Linked DNA regions of Homo sapiens: all the other regions are linked to region 2. Evidence: promoter capture Hi-C in human tissues and cell types (Jung and others, 2019). All regions are on one chromosome and are shown on one strand. The core of a region is centred on a gene start or on the middle of the fragment in contact, and the rest is flanking DNA. Distances in the headings are between cores, read along the strand shown.

What was found. Contacts are between HindIII fragments. The study calls those that stand out against the background at their distance.
Region 1: a contact is called between a fragment that was not itself captured here and the fragment with the promoter of SALL3 in region 2, in 4 of the 25 tissues and cell types used here (H1 embryonic stem cells, heart left ventricle, pancreas and 1 more).
Region 3: a fragment that was not itself captured here is called in contact with the fragment with the promoter of SALL3 in region 2 in 4 of the 25 tissues and cell types used here (H1 embryonic stem cells, hippocampus, pancreas and 1 more).

What each region holds. Positions count from the first base shown.
Region 1 is chr18:78,855,497-78,859,368 of GRCh38, forward strand. No RefSeq gene overlaps it. Among named protein-coding and RNA genes, the nearest start is that of LINC01896, 120 kb to the right of the region's middle. The HindIII fragment of the contact is 3,713 bases long and covers 299-3,872 here.
Region 2 is chr18:78,978,261-78,981,848 of GRCh38, forward strand. SALL3 (spalt like transcription factor 3) reads left to right here and starts at 1,558. Exons shown (of 3, transcript NM_171999.4): 1 at 1,558-2,096. The coding sequence starts at 2,015. It overlaps LINC01896 (long intergenic non-protein coding RNA 1896), which reads right to left and starts at 1,431. Exons shown (of 5, transcript NR_187297.1): 1 at 780-1,431; 2 at 203-478. RefSeq lists an enhancer at 2,975-3,588. The HindIII fragment of the contact is 21,440 bases long and covers 1-3,588 here.
Region 3 is chr18:78,905,970-78,909,785 of GRCh38, forward strand. It overlaps LOC105372224 (a long non-coding RNA gene), which reads right to left. Exons shown (of 4, transcript XR_935678.3): 4 at 2,643-2,781. Among named protein-coding and RNA genes, the nearest start is that of LINC01896, 72 kb to the right of the region's middle. The HindIII fragment of the contact is 3,023 bases long and covers 1,001-3,816 here.

The sequences.
Region 1 (3,872 bases), core at 905-3,404, 120 kb before region 2:
ACTCCCCATCATCACCCACTGGGGGAAGTGCTCACTAGTTATTGGGCTTACTCCCCATCATCACCCACTGGGGGAAGTGCTAACTGGTTATTGGGCTTACTCCCCATCGTCACCCACTGGGGGAAGTGCTAACTGGTTATTGGGCTTACTCCCCATCATCACCCACTGGGGGAATTGCTAACTGGTTATTGGGCTTACTCCCCATCATCACCCACTGGAGGAAGTGCTAACTGGTTATTGGGCTTACTCCCCATCGTCACCCACTGGGGGAAGTGCTAACTGGTTATTGGGCTTACTCCCCATCGTCACCCACTGGAGGAAGTGCTCACTGGTTATTGGTCTTACTCCCCATCGTCACCCACTGGAGGAAGTGCTCACTGCTCACTGGAGGAAGTGCTCACTAGTTATTGGGCTTACTCCCCATCGTCACCCACTGGAGGAAGTGCTCACTAGTTATTGGGCTTACTCCCCATCGTCACCCACTGGAGGAAGTGCTCACTAGTTATTGGGCTTACTCCCCATCGTCACCCACTGGAGGAAGTGCTCACTGCTCACTGGAGGAAGTGCTCACTAGTTATTGGGCTTACTCCCCATCGTCACCCACTGGAGGAAGTGCTCACTAGTTATTGGGCTTACTCCCCATCGTCACCCACTGGAGGAAGTGCTAACTGGTTATTGGGCTTACTCCCCACAATCACCCACTGGAGGAAGTCCTGACACTAAGGGTCCCTTCCAGAGAGCATCAGTGTCATTGCAACAGGGGGACGAAAGCCCGTGAAATCCTGTTTTTGGTCAAGTCCTCATGATTTTATCTTTTAACCCAAAGCACAGTGTTTATTTCTGCTGGGGTTGTTCCCACAAGGAGCTGAAGAACTGAAGCTGAAACTGCCTTTCAGGCTTCCCTGACCACCTTCCTACCCTACCCCAGAGGAAGTTTTCGGGGACCCTCAAGGAGCCACCTGCAGCCCTTCATCATTCTTTCCACTAAGCCTCACGGGCAAGGTCACCCTTCCTGCCTCCCTCCCATGGGCTGACCTGGTGATCCTCCATGGAGAATGCGTAGGAGCCGGATATTGGCACTGCCAGGTGGAAAAGTCCCCTGTCAGGGTGAAAAGTCAGACGGCGTCTGCCTCTCGCTCTTGGAGTGCTCCTGGCCTAACGCAGCAGTTTCGCAGATAAACGTTACAGAAGGTAGAGCGCTCTACAGATATGAAGGAGTGGCCCGTGGTTTCACGTAGAACAAATTACTTCCGGCAGAAAGATCAGGAAAGTTTCGAAATCGCGGAGTTCTCAAGGGATGGGCAGAACGGGCGGGTGAGCAGGGCCAAGCGCCTCCTGGACAGTGACCATCCCGGAGCCTGGGGACGCGCTGGGGGGCAGGAGCTGTCCCACTCGTTCAGGCGAGGGTCTGGGAAGGGACCCCAAGCGGGAGGCCGACGCTGCCTGGGTCCTCCCTTGGGGCGGCCGCCTCCCCATTCACCCCGAGCATCCCGAAACCTGGAAAGGAGCAAAGCTGAAGCGATGGCCACGTGCATGACGGCAGGCAGCCTGCAGATTCGTTGTTAAACTACACTCACGCCGGGTCTAACAGGCGCGCACCTGCCGGCACGCCGCCCGCTGCTGTGACCTGGGCAGCGTCGGGTCTCAGGCCCCCGCCTCTCGCGCTGTGACAGTGAGAAGCCGAGAAAGTCATGTCACGTCCGTCTGAGGAGGCAGCTCCTCAGTGTGGCAGAAAGAAATGCCCACTCTCCGAGCACCAGCCAGGACGTGTGCTTAAGCCAACCTGTTCATTCTTCCACCTGATCCCTTATGTAATGTAACATGCATGTTTCATCCACAAAAATGAGCAGCGAAATCCACCGACCCAGCAACATGTTCCGAGACACGCAGGAGCCTTTTCCACGGAGCCAGCTCCCGGCCTTCCCCTCCAACATCCACCCCGCGCTCGCGTAGCCCGGGCTCCTGCCATTGCGCTGCCAGCTGGGCGGCACCTTTCAGGCGGGGAAAAGCGAATCTTCTGCCGGACTGATCAAGGCACAGCGCTTCTGTCCTGCCCTTTATTTTTGCCCAAATGCATCTTGGTATCACCGTCTGTAATTGTTCCTTCATCTCCCCCGTGGACATGAAGTCGCTACAGCTTTGCAGAAGCAGCATTAGCCTGAGAAGCAGCAAAGAAAAGCAGAGAGGCTTAGCGTCCCTCAGCCACAGATTAATGCCTCTTCAAAGACGCCATCCAGATGCGGCCGGCTCCGCGCCGGCTTCCCCGGCAACAGCTGGGGAGGCGCATGGTGCCCCGCCTTCTGTTCCCCACGTTATGAGCAGGAATAAAAGCCGCCTCCTTAATGGCCTGGGTTTGTGTTGGAGGCATAATTTTCTGTTGACATTACAAAAGGGCAAGCTTCATGTGTTTTCATCACTGACAGAGAGACGAAGGTGAGTTGCTCTCCTATCCACACCTCCTCCTCCTCTCCAGAGCCCACTGCACTCAAGAGCGGGACCCAGGCTCCTCGGGGCGTGTCCTCGGCGGTCCCTCGGCCTCACACAACAGTCAAAAGCAGCTGCTAACTTTCGACCTTACGTGAGGAGTGGCGAAAGCATCCCATTTGCTACCAGGGCAGATTATTTTTGGAGTTAAAATAAAAGAAACACCATTCTCAACTCACCGTTGCCCGTGGATTCCAGTGGGTAGGAATTAAAGCCTCTAAAAAGAGGCTGTGTGATTTCCCGGGTGAAGTGTCAGATTGTAAAGGGATTCAGAACTACTCATTCCAGTTCAGCAGATTAGTAAGAACCAGAATGCATGGCCTCGAACAACCTCCCGGTGCCAGGAGAGTCTCTTTGAAGAACTCTGAGTAACAAAGGCCACCCCACGTTGAACCCCAGTTATGAGCTACAGTCTTATTGCCAAATTAAGTTGAGAATCTGTGATCGTTTGGCTTCAGAAAGAGAAAGCAAAAAACTTTTTTCTCTGTGACCCAGGTGTGATCCTTGGGGAGTGAGTCCTTGGCTGCACTCATAAGGGAACCCTCGGAGGTACCTGTCCAGAGGCAGAAAGCTTCTCCCTGGACTGTCTGGAGTCTCTGGACTGTCTGGAGCGTGCCATGACTGTCTGGAGTGTGCCATGACTGTCTGGAGTGTGCCGTGACTGTCTGGAGTGTGCCATGACTGTCTGGAGGGTGCCGTGACTGTCTGGAGGGTGCCGTGCCCTCCTGAATGGGCACCTTGTTTTTATTTCACAGTTTTCCAGTGAATGACCAGACACAACCGTTACAGGGTCAGCACTTTCATGGAAGGTTACAGAAGCGGACATGTTCCACGCAAAATATTGGACAATATAAGAAACGTATCACTTGGCATTTGCAAAACGATTTCCTAGGACAGTTTGCCTTCCAGGTCATGTAAAGCTTGTGTTCAGAGGTTAGACATAGACATGCCATTGGTACCAGCAGTGGGAGGGAGGGAGGGAGGGAGGGTCAATCCAGTCACTTCCCAAAGGAACCTGGTCGGGGGATGAGTTTGGGCATCAACTTCATGAGGCAAAGAAGCCAGAGAGAGCTCCATGGCAAGGTCTGACAACAAGTCAACTCGTAAACCAGGCTCCAAGCCATTCTCCAAGGCACATCTGGGAAGTGTCACCTTCTCATCTTTACAAAAACCTTGGGAGGCCCCAGATTTCCCCATTACCAAAGACTGCATTTCCTGATGCAAGGAAATCTCGCCACTGATGGCGAGATTTGCCTGGACTCCTCACAAACACCTGCTGGGTGGCGCGGCTGCATTCCTCCTGCCTGTGACTCGGGCTGGCTGCAGGTGGACACGGAGACCACACCCACACCCATGGGAAGGCCCGTCCTGCAGATGAGGGTGGGGAA
Region 2 (3,588 bases), core at 308-2,807:
GTCTTGAAAAAAAAATCTAAATGAATACGCCCGCTACCAAAAGGCAAAATAAAACCAACCTTAAGGGTTTTTGTTGTTTTTTTTTTTTTTCAAAAGTGGCGATAGGGACTGTTTGGACCTGACTCCAACCTGCGCCCTCCCTTCCTCTATGACCCTCCTGCGCTTTTCCTGGAACCCAAAGCTCTGACTTCGTCAAACTTACACAATTAAAGGCAGGCGGAAGAACGCGGGCTGGGAAGCAAGCGGGAAGATTCTAGAATGGAAGGGAGCCCGCCGAGCGCCGCGAGCCGCGCCAGGCCGGGTCCGATGGAGCAGGCGGGGATTCCTCCCCCAGGCGGACCCCCGCCACCAGCCCTGCCGGGAGCTCGCGGCCTGCGGAGCGCCCGGGCTGGCCGCTCACCGCCCGCTTCCCCCAGCGAACGACTCGGGGAAGCTCCAGGAGGCCATCTGTGCTGACGGTTCACACCAGACAGGACCACTTGCAAGGACAAAAATAAGAAATTTAGGAAACGAAAAAAGACGTACTGGGGCGAGGGGCGCGGGCGCGGCGACGACGGGGCCGGGGGCACATCCTGGCGGCCGCTCGGGGAGAGAGGACACGCGCGGGAAGGAGCGCGGCGGGTGCACGGCCGCGGGTGGGAGTACGCGCCTGTGCGCGCGGGGCGAGGGCGAGGGCGCGTGCGTGTGACCGCGGGGAGGGGGCGGGCGCGTGTGCGGGGAGCGCGCCGCGCCAGGGGCCGAGTGTGTGGGGCCGATCCAGAAGTGCGCAGCCCCCTCACCTGGCCCCCGTGTCATCCCCGAAATCCCGGGAAAGGGTGGGCCGCGCGCGGGAGTTTGGTGGAGTTGGAACTTTCGGTCGCGCTCGCTGCCCACTCCGCTGGCGCCCGGTGGCCCGTGGTGAAGGGGGACTAGGGTGGGGAACACCGGGGCCCTGCGGTCCCCTCCCTTTCCTGTATTTAAGAAGCCGCCGGCGGCGCAGAGGCCCAGGCGGGCTGGCGCGGGGGCGAGGCGGCCCGGTGGCAGCAGCGGGCGGGGCGGGCGCTCCGGAGTCGGTGGGGCCCGCGGGTTGGGGGGCGGGGAGAGGGGGGAGTGGAAGGGAGGGGGAACGCAGGGGAGGGAGAGGAGGGGAGGAGCCGCGCGGCCCGCGCCGCTTCCGAACCGGAAAGTTGGTCTTGCCGAAGTCCTGCCACCCCGGCGTGCGCACTCCGCTCCGCTCCGGCCGCGAGCCTCCGAGCCCGGCCGGCCGCCGGGGGAAGCCCGCGGAGGGGACGCGGGGCCGGGCGAGAAGGTCCGGAGAGCGGGGGGCACCTGAGCCCGGGCGGGCCCGCCGCGCTGAGCGGCGCTGAGAGCCGCGGCGGAGCAGCGAAGGCGGCCGGCCGACCCCGCGCGCCCGGAACAGGAGGCGCGGCGCCCGAGCGGCCCGGGCGAGACAAAGGCGCCGGGTCGGAGCCCTGCCCGCGGCCGCTCGCTCCGGGAGGGGCCGCCCGGCGGCGGCGGCGGGGGGGGCGCGGGCGGCGGCGCAGACACTCTATAAAGGGGCGAGCCCGGCGCGCCGGCGGAGACGGCGCCGCGCGGACGCCGCCAAAGTTTGCTGCCTGCGCCCTGCGGAGGGACGGCCACCGCGGCCCGCGCCGCACCCGGGCCCCGCCACAGCCGCACCCGGGGCGGCCGAGGAGCGCGGCGCCGGAGCCCGCGATGTGAGGCGGCGCCGGGCAGCGCGCGCCCCGGTCCCGAGGCGCCGCGGCCCCCTCCTCGTCGGCGCGGCCGCTAATTGCGAGCGCGGCCTCATTTGCATAGGCCGCCGGAGTCCGCTGGAGCCCGGCCAATCGGCGCGGCCCTCCGCTAATGGCCATGCATTATTCACCAGCCTAATTGCTCAGCCCCATGCGCGGCCCGCGCAGCCGCCGCCGCCCCGCGCCCCGCGCCGCGCGCCCGCCAGGCCGCCCCGCGCCGTCCCCGCCGGCCGCCCCGCTGATGCCGCTGCCCCGCGCGGGGCCCGAGCGCCGCTAGCAGCATGTCTCGGCGCAAGCAGGCCAAGCCCCAGCACCTCAAGTCGGACGAGGAGCTGCTGCCGCCTGACGGGGCTCCCGAGCACGGTGAGGGCCGGGGCTGCGGGGTGGCCGGGGGGTCTGGGGCTGCCCGTCCGGGCTGGGGAAGCGCGTGCGGCGGGAGCGGATGCGCGCGTCCGGGAGCGGGAGAAAGTTCCCTGCTTCCTGCGGGCAAGCGTCCGCCCCGCGCCAGGCCGGCCGCGGGGCCCCGGGTACTTCGCCGGAGCGCGCGCGGCCGCCGAGAGAGTTGTGGGCGAAGTAAACTTGGCTCCTCTCCTCGGAGTCGGGGAGCTGCCCGCGAAGGGCGCCGAGGCCGCGGCCGGCTCGAGGACGGCTCGGAGGCCGGGGCGGGAGGGAGTCCACGGTGCCTCCGCCGCCGCGCCGCCCCCCAGGGTCTCTGCGCCAGGACGCTGAGGCCGGCGGCGGCGGGGAAGGCGACCGCAGCCCACCTACCGCTGGACGCGGGTTGGGGACCCCGCCGCCCGGCCAGCTTTGTTCGGGGGCCCGCGGCCCCTCCCGGGCCCCCGCACCGCCTCGGGTGACCCGCGGTGTCCCAGCGCGTTGACGCAGCCTGTGATCCCTCGCGAGGCGAGGAGAAGGTCGGGGGCTTGGCTCTGCCTAATGGCCGCCCGGGGAATTAAGCTGGGGGTGAGCGCAGCGGCGGCGGCCTGGGCCTGGCCCCTGCTCGCGGCGTGTTTCCGGGGCGTTCGTTGCAGCGTCTGCGCGGGCCTTTTCTCTCCCGTCTTTTTGGATCCGCCGAGGCCGGGCGCTGGAGACCTCGGCTTTGCAGTCATTTCGCTGGTAGGAGCGTCCTCTTCGAAACATCCAAGAGCAAAGGGCAGGCGCCGCGAAAGTTAAGAGACTGGCAAAGGGCTGGACTTCCCAGAGTGGCGCCTTAGCCCCGCAAAGTTTGGGGCGCCCCCACCCCCTTCGTCGAGTCAAAACCTCGGCCGGCGGCGCCCGGGCTTCGGCGCGCCCCGCGGGGCCCCCAGGGCGCCAGGAAAGAGGGCCGAGGAGGGGCGACCCCACGACCCCGAGCCCGCAGCACAGCTCGCAGTAAAATAATTTGCTCCTTAAAAAAACAGGCAGGCCAACTTTTATGATTGACCTGTTATAAGTTGTTGGAGGCAGATGGTGATCTTTTTACTCTGAGAATGAGACTGTCTGCGAAAAGGAAACGGGGCGGAAGAGTTTCCCACACAGTGGAGTAAAGTTTGACAAAGCGGGTAGACACCCATGTCGGATGAGAACGAGAGAGCATGCTTATGACGCGGCTGGAGAATTAATGAATTAAATAAAATTAGTGAGCTCGCTGGGGTCTTTTTGTTGCGGTGGAGGTAAGGGAGTCTTATCTGTGTAGCCAAGTCAGCCAAGATGAGAACAGGCGATATGCTAAAAAGAAACGCTTGCATATGGTGGGTAGATTAAGGACAAAGAATCTTTTTGTCATGGAAATGGATTTTTTTTTGTTTTGTTTACTTCATCACATAGAATTTCTCACACTTGGTTTGTTTTGTATCGCCCTCAATGACTACATGAT
Region 3 (3,816 bases), core at 1,262-3,761, 71 kb before region 2:
GGTTTTTGAAAAAATCATTCTTAAACCATTTTCTAAGAATTTGGGTCTCTTACATTTGAGTGGAAGTCACTTTTCTTAAAATTCAGTGACAATCTACAGCCATTGTGGGAAAGAGGCGTTCTGCAGCCCTGCAGCAGGCCTGTGTTCCAGGAGCCCCTACTTAAGAAATGTCTGGCTTCTGCCACCCCACCCTAGGCCTGAGCTTCCCGCTGGCTGCCGGACGCCGTCCTGCCAGCATTCTGCCTGACCTCAGCGGGGTCACCCCCGAACCTCACCCCATCGATGGCTCAGGCTGCCCCTCCAGGCCGCCGCCCGGCCTCATCACCCTCCCGCTCCCCACCAGGGTCCCACCCTCTCACTCCACTTTCCTCTTCAGTAGAGCACCGGGACTCCCTGTGCACCACCAGCCAAGCTAGACCCGGACATTTCACCCGGAGGATCAGGCAGGGTAACACCCCACTCATTTCATCCACCTGCTTAGAACTCGCCATGTCTCTTCATGGTCTTAGGCTGCAGAAGCCCTTTCCGAGCACGACGCAAGGGCCAGAAACAGAGCACACGAAACTTACAATTTTCTGCATCACAGCGAAAATCAAACAAACAAAAACAAAAAACAAAGTTAAAAGATAATTCTTTGGAGAAAATATTTATACGAATTACCAAAGAAAGGCTATTGTCTTTGTATATTTCATACATTAATATCCTTAGATTAGATTGTAAAGCCATAAGAGAAATATGAACAGAAAACCAGGCCACTGAATTTGTTTGGGGACATATTAAAAATTTGCATGTACTGAAACAAAAAGGTCTTTAGTTGAAAAAAAAAAAATTAAGAAACAAAATAGCATCACATGACAGGAACTTTTTTTGGTCTTTGAAAGTAGGAGTGTCATATGCAAAAGGGAAGAAAAGCAAACAAAATACGTCAAGTTATGTTAAATACGTCATGTTAGCAGTTGGCCGGGCAAGGGGGCTCACACCTGTAATCCCAGCACTTTGGGAGGCTGACACAGGAGGATTGTTTGAGTTCAGGTGTTTGAGATGAGCCGGGGCAACATAGTGACACCATGTCTCTACAGTTTTTTTTTTTTTTTTTGAATTAGCTGAGTGTGGTGGTACGTGCCTGTGGTCCCAGCTACAGGGGAGGCTGAGGCAGGAGGATGGCTTGAGCCCAGGAGTTCGAGCTTACAATGAGCTATGATTGTGTCACTGCACTCTAGCCTGGGTGACAGAGCAAGACCCTGTCTAAAAAGGAAAAAAAAAAAGTTGGGTAACAGTTACCTCCAATTGTAGAATTTTTTTTTATTATCGTCATGTTTTTTCTTTATGCATATCTGTGTGTTTTTAAAGTTTTGCAAGTAAAAAATTCTAAAATCTGTTGGCTCACATTCAAGACCCTCCAAGCCCCAGAAGAAGCTCTGTCTCTCCAGGTGCCACCTGCACTTCTCCCGCAGGAATCCCTTGCTGAAAGCTCCACACTGAACAGAGCTTTTCTCTCGGAAACTCCTGCCCACCTGTTCCACATACTGTAGACACATCCAAGAATTCTAAAAGAATAGAAGGAGGAATAGTGAGGAAGAGTTGGGTCAAAGTACCTTCCAGAAGATATCAGAAAGAGGTGAAAAAAAAAAAAAAATGCTGGGCGCGGTGGCTCACGCCTGTAATACCAGCACTTTGGGAAGCCAAGGCAGGTGGATCACTCGAGGTCAGGAGTTCGAGACCAGGCTGGTCAACATGGTGAAACCCCGTCTCTACTAAAAATACAAAAAATTAGCCAGGTGTGGTGGCACGCACCTGTAATCTCAGCTCCCCGTCTCTACTAAAAATACAAAAAATTAGCCGGGTGTGGTGGCATGCACCTGTAATCTCAGCTACTGGGGAGGCTGAGGCAGGAGAATTGCTTGAACCTGGGAGTCAGAGGTTGCAGTGAGCCAAGATCATGCCACTGCATTCCAGCCTGGGAGACAAAATGAGACCCTGTCTCAAAAAAAAAAGCGGGGGGAGGCTGGGTGCGGTGGCTCACGCCTGTAATCCCAGCACTTTGGGAGGCTGAGACGGGGGATCACCTGAGGTCAGGAGTTCAAGACCAGCCTGGCCAGCATGGCGAAGCCCCATCTCTACCAAAACTACAAAAATTAGCTGGGCATGGCGGTGCACACACCTGTATTCCCAGCTACTCAGGAGGCTGAGGCAGAAGAATCTCTTGAACCCAGAGGTGGAGGTTGCAGTGAGCTGAGATATACCACTGCACTCCAGCCTGGGTGACAGAGCGAGGCTGTCTCAAATAGAAAAGTGTGAAGAATGAGGGAATTTGACAGGCATGGTGGTGCACACCTGTGGTCCCAGCTACTCAGCAGGCTGAGGCGGGAGGCTCACTTGAGCCTGCCTGGTTGAGGCTACAGTGAGCCATGTTCATGCCACTGCACTCCAGCCTGGGTGACAGAGTGAGACCCTGTCTCAAAAAAAAAAAAGAATGAAGATAAAAAATATGGATGGGGAAAAAGGAGGCATCACTAAGAATCCAAACAGCAAACAGAAAGAAAAAGGGGTTGCATAAGATCCCGGAATATCCCGGGATGAAAACAGAAGCTTTCAAGTTAAAAGGAGTGTGAGTGCGACCTGGAGAGGGAAGGAGCCGCATGTATAAGCGTATTTTCACTGAAGGGAAGAACACGGGGCCCGCGAAAGCTGGACGGCCGGAGACCCGCGTTTCCACGTTTCCACGTTTTCGTTCCTGTGCTGTCCCCAGCAGACCAGGCACCATTTCACATCACGATCCCGCTGAGATCAAGGAGACCAGATGTCAGAAAATGCTTTAGAAGTATAGGTGAGAGATAAATGCAAAATAAAGTGTTTACTAAATCAGAGTCATTTTGGAAAAAAATGTTTACGGCTGGTATACTCAACCTGCACTTTAACATCTGTCTAAAGTATCTGTATCGAACACGGGGAGAAAATCCTACTTTACCATTACCTTTGAAATTAAAGTTTCCAGAGCCTTATGATGAAATTTATGTCAAATTAATTTCTGGGACTCAATGAAGCTTAAAATGAATTCATAATGAGGTACACTTAAGAGGTGTGCAGAGGGCCTTGGAGGGACTGATCAAAGAGGTCCCCTTCCTGCCATTAACTCTAATTTCGTGATGATGACACATTTTATCCGAGCACAACACATACTCTCAGAGATGATATGCTTTCACAATTACTGTATATGCAGGATGTGTGACCAAATGGAAGTTGACTATTGCTACATTATTATTAGCATTATTATTATTAGTTAATTGAGTATCAGCAATGTGCACAATCTTCTATGAGATATAATGAAAAGATGGCTCCTGTGTTGGAGATTTATGTCTTAATTTAGACATACTTATAATTCCAACATAACACATACAGCCTGAGAAAATGATTTTCTTAAAAGTGCAAGATTTCCTAAAACTGTATGGTTCCTAATGACAGCTCCCTGCTTCCGACTGAATGTCAGCAAAGAGCAGTATTTAAGAGGCTGCACCTTCAGACAAAAGATTTTCTATTCTTCATATTTAAATATTAAAACTCTTAAAAACATATCTTAAATGAATTTAGGAAATTCTTCAGCAAAAAGAAATGTAGAGTGCTGTAAAGATCCTAAAAAAGTGTGCCATTTCTTATTCACTTTTCATGCAGTGGACACCTTGATTTCATGATTACATTTGGGCTGAAAAGCTAAAAATAGAATATATTGTTTGATTCTTCCAAATCACAGATTCTTAACGAGAGAAATAAGATTTATATTCTTAGGTAGTCTGCCTTCCTGAACAACACACATCCAAC